Linked DNA regions of Homo sapiens: region 2 is linked to region 1. Evidence: promoter capture Hi-C in human tissues and cell types (Jung and others, 2019). All regions are on one chromosome and are shown on one strand. Each heading gives the region's core, a stretch centred on a gene start or on the middle of the fragment in contact. The rest is flanking DNA. Distances are from core to core; before and after follow the strand shown.

Region 1 (3,430 bases), core at 658-3,157:
AGGAAGGAAGTAAAGAAGGAAAAGAGGAAGGAAAGAAGGAAGGGAGAAAGGGAGGGAGGGATGAAGCAAGGAATGAAGGAAAGAAAGAAGAAACAAAACAAGGAAGGAAAGGGGAGGGAGGAGAGGGAGGAAGGAAGGAAGGAAAGAAAGAAAAAGATATATTTTCCTAAAGTTGAATATATGAAACTTAAAAGACCATCTATTGTTATAAATATGCTTTCTCTATTCTTCTAATATAAAGATTCCTTTTACTTTTTGAATTTTTGTGGTGAGGAAATGGCAGATTCTTCATTTTTTATGCTTGGCAACTGTATGTCAGCCTCTCCTCACTTTGTTTGGATTATTTTGGTGCATGAAATCAAGGGGACTGAGAACCACTGTACTGGCCAAAGATGAGGAGACCTGCAGTCAGCCCAGGGACCTTGGGTCTTAATCCTAATGAGGCAATTAAGTAAGTCAGAAACAAGTAAGTCTGTTTACTTATCTTGGTAGTATTTTTCTTACATATAGAAATGGGCTTTACACTAGAGCTTATTCAAGCTCTCCATAGTTCAAAATATAGACCCCCAGACTGGCAAAATTATCAGTCATGATAAAGTGTTTCCGTTTTCTAAAATGTCTGTCAATAATTTTTTTTTTGTAAAGAACTTTTTCCACCTTTGGTCATGTGCTGAAAGACAACATCTATGAGAACACTTCACTACCAAAATAATGGCACATTAGTAAACCTCTTGATCACAGTGTGGTGGCTGTTACTAGTTTATAAGTGGTGCTTGAGGCACTTTTCAGCAATGTGCTAAGTATTTAGAACCTTCATAAGGCAGAGAGAGAGAGAGAGAGAGGGAAAGGGAGAGCATTGGGATAGGGGGAAGAGAATATGAGAGAGGTCTGGCCTCTTCTCTTCCCCGTTTGTATTTCTCCTCCTTTTCATCTATCTAATCTTGCAGAATCCTTCTTAAAATTAAACAGATGTCCTGTTCTAACCAAAAGCTAGATACACAAAGACCAAGAAATAAGTGATGAGCTTCAGGAATGCACTTCAGGACATGTAAAATAGAAAAGCTTTATAGTAATGTAATGTGTTGATTTTATTTTTCCCCAGATACTTACAAGTTAAAGAAATATAATTTAAGAAAATTACAGCACAGTCTCAGGTGACATTTAAGAATTAGACAGGTGAACTTGTTTATTTTTGTGGTCTGTCAATGCATTAAAAACTAAATTCAGAAAACTATTTTCTAAGACTTTGGTTATGAATATAGACGTTAAAAAACACTCTTGGGAAAACCAACCTGCAAGTGAAGGTCATTTACAGTGAGTTACTGAAAAAGAATGTGAGGGGAAAAATCTATAGGTCACTATCAAGTAATAAGCACATCCCCTCCCATCAAAATTGCTTTTTAAGCTCATATCCATCAGAAACATATTATATATTATTCCTTTTATCATAGTGCAAAATTAATAGATTAAAACATGTACATTTTAGTTTTTACTGAGGAGGAGCCAGTATGAGAAAAACTTTGAGCTTAATAAATACAAATACACACAAACACACATATATAAGTTGTGGTATATAATGTGATATATATGTATATATTCAGTAGAGTATTAAGAACAGAATGAGGAGAGTCTTTGGGAAATATCAGAAATAGAATGACTTTAATTTTAACAATGAGTCTATAGGAATTAATGACATACATATCATAATTATTTTGCATCTTATTTTAGTTAAAAAAATGTGCAGTCCGAGTAAGACCTTTGTTCCACACACGTGTGTGCTGTGCATATTCTTTCTAAGTGGACTAGTTTTGTTCTCATGCCATGGGAGCAGGTGGCATGAAGCTGTTTTGATGAGGTTAAAAGGCTCCTCCCCTCTCTCCCCAAGCAGCAGCCTGAAGTACGTCAGCAGTAATTGTGTGCATGGCTCGGCTGTGCAGGGAGGGTGGAGGCAAAATTGATATCAAATAAGGGTATCAAACTGAGATCTAGATGTTCCATTTAAGTTGTTGTTCATTTTCATTAGCCACGCCAGGGGTGAAATGCTTATAACTTAACCATTCTCTGTAGTAAGAACATTTGTTTTCAATGGATTTATATTTTTCCTCTCCATAAAGACTGAATTAGTGCTATAGTGAATATAAATGAAGGGTGTTTCTTTACCCTCTTTTCCTTTTATTATTTACTAATCAGACTTCAGCTCAGTTAGATAAAAGAGAGAGGTTCTGTTGCCTAGATGTGAGGCCTTTAATGAGGATGGGAGCCCCCAGGGAGCCGAAATCCAAAGTAGAACGATGCCGCTTTCCGGTTTCTTGCAATTTCTTCAGTTGCTTCTCCCTTTTCCAATGGGCCTAGTGAGCAGGAACTATCCAAGGTGCTAGAACGCTGGCAGCCTTGCCGTTCAATGCAGACGGATTGCAGAAACAGAGAAGAAAGATTACTGCTTATTTCAGAAGGTAGGTTCTTTGTTTCAGAATCCCTGATTAATCAGCAGCAGCTTCAACAGACTAAGGCAGCTGGAGAGGAGAAAGAGAAGCAGGAAGGGAGGGAGTCAGGGGCAGGGAGGGAGGGAGGGAGTGGAGGGAGAGAGAATGAGAGAGAGAGAGCTGGTTGTCACGGGGGAGGGACTATGCCACAAGCTGGGCTGCTCCAAACCTTCTGTATGTAAGTGGCAATGAGAAAGAGCATCTTTTTGGCTGAAAGGAGACATTTAGAAAGGATGTTTCTGATTTTTTGTTTTCATTTATTTTTGTCTTCGCAGAATATAATCAAATGAGGTACATTAGCCAGCTTGGTGATTGCTTCTGGTCCTGTAATCATCTGTGTAGCAAAGTGGGTAAAATCATTCAATTTCTTCCCTGCTGGACCTGGAAGGAGAGGGGCTGTGTGTTCATCCCCACCCATTAGCTATGCCCTCTTTTCTCCGAATGTCGATTTAAGGAAGCAAGCACCTGTCTTCCGCCACTGCATCTTCCTAGCAAACTTTAAAGGCCATTTTATCTGATAGGAAGGACATCGAGAATGCTCTGATCTAGTGATGAAGAATCTGGGAGTCGACACTTTTCCCATCCAGACACAATGCACTTTAATTGAAGAAACACTGAGCTGAACTACAAGTCTATTTCTTATGGTGCTGGATTACTCCTACAGAACTGCCCTGAGATCAACCGTGAGAGAGGGCTCTGACAGACACAAGTCACCTTCTGGTTATTGCACTTAGCTCTCCCTGGGGACTTAAATTTTGGTATGTATCTCATTTTTCAGATTCTCTAAGCATGCTAATCGAATCCAGCACTGAATAGATCAAGCAATCTGGTGATAAAATGGAATGGATTTTAGTTAGGGATACTTAATGCTGAAGTTTGCATGCCTTATTAGGTGGAGCAGAAATAAAGCCACAGTGAAGGCATCCAGGGCTTTAGTGAGCCTGAGG
Region 2 (3,430 bases), core at 306-2,805, 280 kb before region 1:
CCCATTCCATTTCTTCATGTTTCTCAAAGTGCCTTCCTATGAGTGCCTAAAAGTTGATGAAAAGAGAGCGCTCAAAGAGCAAAGAAGAGGATTCTTTTGTTCAGGTCAGGCATGGCTCGGGCCAAGTTTATCCTTGGAGTATTAATCTGAATGCTCTAGTTAGTCAATGATATCAGCTACAGATAATGAAATTTGCCTCCTCCCTTCCAACATGTATAGGATTATTTTATTTCTAATTGCAGAGGCCAGTCTTTAATTAATTCCAAATATTCTCCAGGAGTACGTAAACAAAAATGCTTCTACTCTTTCAACATTTAGTTCTGAAACCCACCTTTTATTGCTTGCTCCTACAAGAATCTAATGCCACTGCTGATCTGACAGGAGGCAGAGCTCAGGCAGTAATGTTCACTGGCCTGCAGCTTACCCCCTTCTGTACCATGCCAGTCCATGGCCAGGGATTTAGGGACCCCTGATATACAGAGTGACGAGCACCCCAGTGAATGTGTGCCTGCTGTGACGAGTGAACATGCAAGTGTGAAGACCTTGCACAAGCAGTTGAGAAAGAAAAAGCAAACTACTGAAATGTGGAGGATTTGCACACTCCTTCCATTTCTTCTAATCACCATTGTTCTCTCTGGTATGAACTTGGTCAAGCAGTGGCATGAGTTCCATAAAACTGCATAGTGACCTCTCTGGCAAATCTATTAAAATTGTCCAGATCAAGCCCAAAAATGATAATTACCTAATTAACTTATTTTTGTTAAGAAAGAGAAGCCAAAAAGTCAAGTGACACCATTTAAGGTTTCATTTCTCCTTGCAAAACCAAGCACAAGTCACATGATTGCCTGGAAGCTGATACAACTGCCTTCAAAGTTAACAACAAATATCAAATATGCTTAGAGAGAAAATGGCCCTGTTGGGCAGTGTGCAGTGGAATGGTGACAACAGTCACCTGTGCATACCAGCAGGTATTTCCCTTTTGTGGTGCACCAAATCATCAGTTGGAAGAGAATGCTTTTACCCTTGGCAAATGCAGACTACATATATGAGCAAGAAGGGCTCTGTGAAATTTTTTTTCCCCAAAACAATTGTTTAGTGAGTCCTGATATTCTGTAAGAAGTGCACTGGCATCAGTTTCAACTAGCTGTGAGTGCCAAGCCACACACTTTATTTGGAGAGCACCCTTGGCAGTCAGTAATATATGACTTCATCTTGAGTTAGGGTTGAGGAAAGTGGACAACTGCGGACAGGATCGACATGTAGTCACAGTGCACTGTGTGATAAAAGCATATTTTGTCCTAGTGAAATTCACTACATATTAAGGAGAGGGAGCATGATAGAAATTTATAGCATTGGATGAAGCATAATTATTTTTCATGGCACTAATATTACAAGTAAAATCCATTTCTGTGATTTCAAGTGGGAAATCTCCATTCTGAATTTGTAATCTTGAACAGCATGAATACTGTGTAGGATGCATGCAGGGAATACATATCACTTTTTAAAATAGCAAGTCTAAGTAGCTGAAATCATAACACAAATGGCTTTGACTCTTTTCTAATGCTGGGTGATTTTGTTTTCACTTGTTAGAGAAAGACTCAATGGCACATAGGTATAAGTAAACTGCCTGCAAACAGATCTACAGAAAATAGCAATATTTTACAGAATCAAGTTAAACCCAGAAATGGACTCATAATCCAATCACTGCTATTCACAAATTGAAACATTCATCCTCCCACTTTGGGGTCATGTTCTGCTCACAGGACAGACTGTATGGTGAGGAGCTGTTCAGAGTAAAGTCTTAGTCTATCATAGTACCTATGATAAAGTGTTTCTGTGAAGATTAAATAAGCTTATACATGTGAAGTGCTTAGAAATTTCCCCACATCAATGATGTTAGCTGTTTTTAATATTGTTACTCTACTTAGGCTGAGCATGGTGGCTCACGCCTGTAATCCCAGCACTTTGGGAGGCCGAGGTGGGTGGATCACGAGGTCAGGAGATTGAGACCATCCTGGCTAACATGGTGAGACCCCGTCTCCACTAAAAAATACAAAAAATTAGCCGGGCTTGGTAGCGGGCGCCTGTAGTACCAGCTACTTGGGAGGCTGAGGCAGGAGAATGGTGTGAACCCGGGAGGCAGAGCTTGCAGTGAGCCAAGATCACACCACTGCACTACAGCCTGGGCGACATATATATATATATATATTTATGTATATATAAATATATGTATATAAAAATATATATATATTTGTATATATAAATATATGTATATAAAAATATATATATTTATGTATATATAAATATATGTATATAAAAATATATATACATATATATATAGCTGTATATATGTATATTTACTGTACCTATTCAGACAGGGAAGAGAACATAGTTTTCAGTGAAAAATTCCTTCTTCATTTTAGAGGCTTAATTCAATTCAAATACTCAAAGCTATTTTAGAGCCACCAAACTTTTGTGTTTTGCAGGTTTCTTTTTTTTTTTTTTTTTCTGAGGCAGAGTCTTGCCCTGTCACCCAGGCTGGAGTGCAGTGGCGCAATCTCAGCTTACTGCAACCTCTGCCTCCTGAGTTCAAATGGTTCTCATGTCTCAGCCTCCTGATTAGCCAGGATTACGGGTGCATGCCACCATGCTGAGCTAATTTTTGTATTTTTTAGTAGAGATGGGGTTTCACCATATTGGCCAGCCTAGTCTGAAGCTCCTGGCCTCATGTGATCTGCAACTGCCTCGGCCTCCCAAAATGCGTAGTGAACCACTATGCCTGGGTGAACCACTAAACTTTTGTTTGCAGGTTCTGATTACCTAATTAAGAGGGAAGGTTTTCTAATGGGATAGAAGAAATAAAGTGTAAAAAAAGAAAGAGAGAAACAACAAATTGACCTATGACTCATGCTATATATTTTGAGATATGTTTATAAACACTTAGAAGTCTGCAGATCAGGCAGGTGTATGGCTAATTTGGCCCATGCCCCTTCCCTTGATCGTAGAACCTGGCTAGTTTCTCTTGATTGGTTTTCTAATGTCTGGAACTGCAGAGCCTCTATCTCCTATTCTCTATTCAGTACAATCCAACTTAGAGAAACCACTCGTGTTTTTGATCACCTGTTAAGATTATTCTCAGCAGGAAATATTTCTCCTGAGTGAATAACAATAGAAAGAGGAGAGAATGATTATTTTTGCCTCCCCTGGTGAGTATTTTAAGACACATGGAAAGTATTTAAGTTTTTTTAATATTAAAAAGCTTGCCAGATCCCCCTCTCTGTGAAAGATGATTCCCTATTCAGAGAGGAGAAGAGGAATGGTGTGTGTGTGAAGGAGCAGCCTGATCAGATTTAAGGAAATAATAATTTGTGATATGAAATGTACTTTCTAGGTCACTTTCCAGAAATCATTGTTACTGGTAGGAGATTAT

What was found. The method cuts DNA at HindIII sites, captures the fragments that hold promoters and counts their contacts. A contact is called where the count stands out against the background at its distance.
Region 2: a fragment that was not itself captured here is called in contact with the fragment with the promoter of NYAP2 in region 1 in 1 of the 25 tissues and cell types used here (H1 embryonic stem cells).

What each region holds. Positions count from the first base shown.
Region 1 is chr2:225,397,803-225,401,232 of GRCh38, forward strand. It overlaps NYAP2 (neuronal tyrosine-phosphorylated phosphoinositide-3-kinase adaptor 2), which reads left to right and starts at 1,908. Exons shown (of 8, transcript NM_001371273.1): 1 at 1,908-2,453; 2 at 2,759-3,241. The HindIII fragment of the contact is 4,626 bases long and covers 1-3,430 here.
Region 2 is chr2:225,116,330-225,119,759 of GRCh38, forward strand. No RefSeq gene overlaps it. Among named protein-coding and RNA genes, the nearest start is that of DOCK10, 76 kb to the left of the region's middle. The HindIII fragment of the contact is 3,722 bases long and covers 1-3,416 here.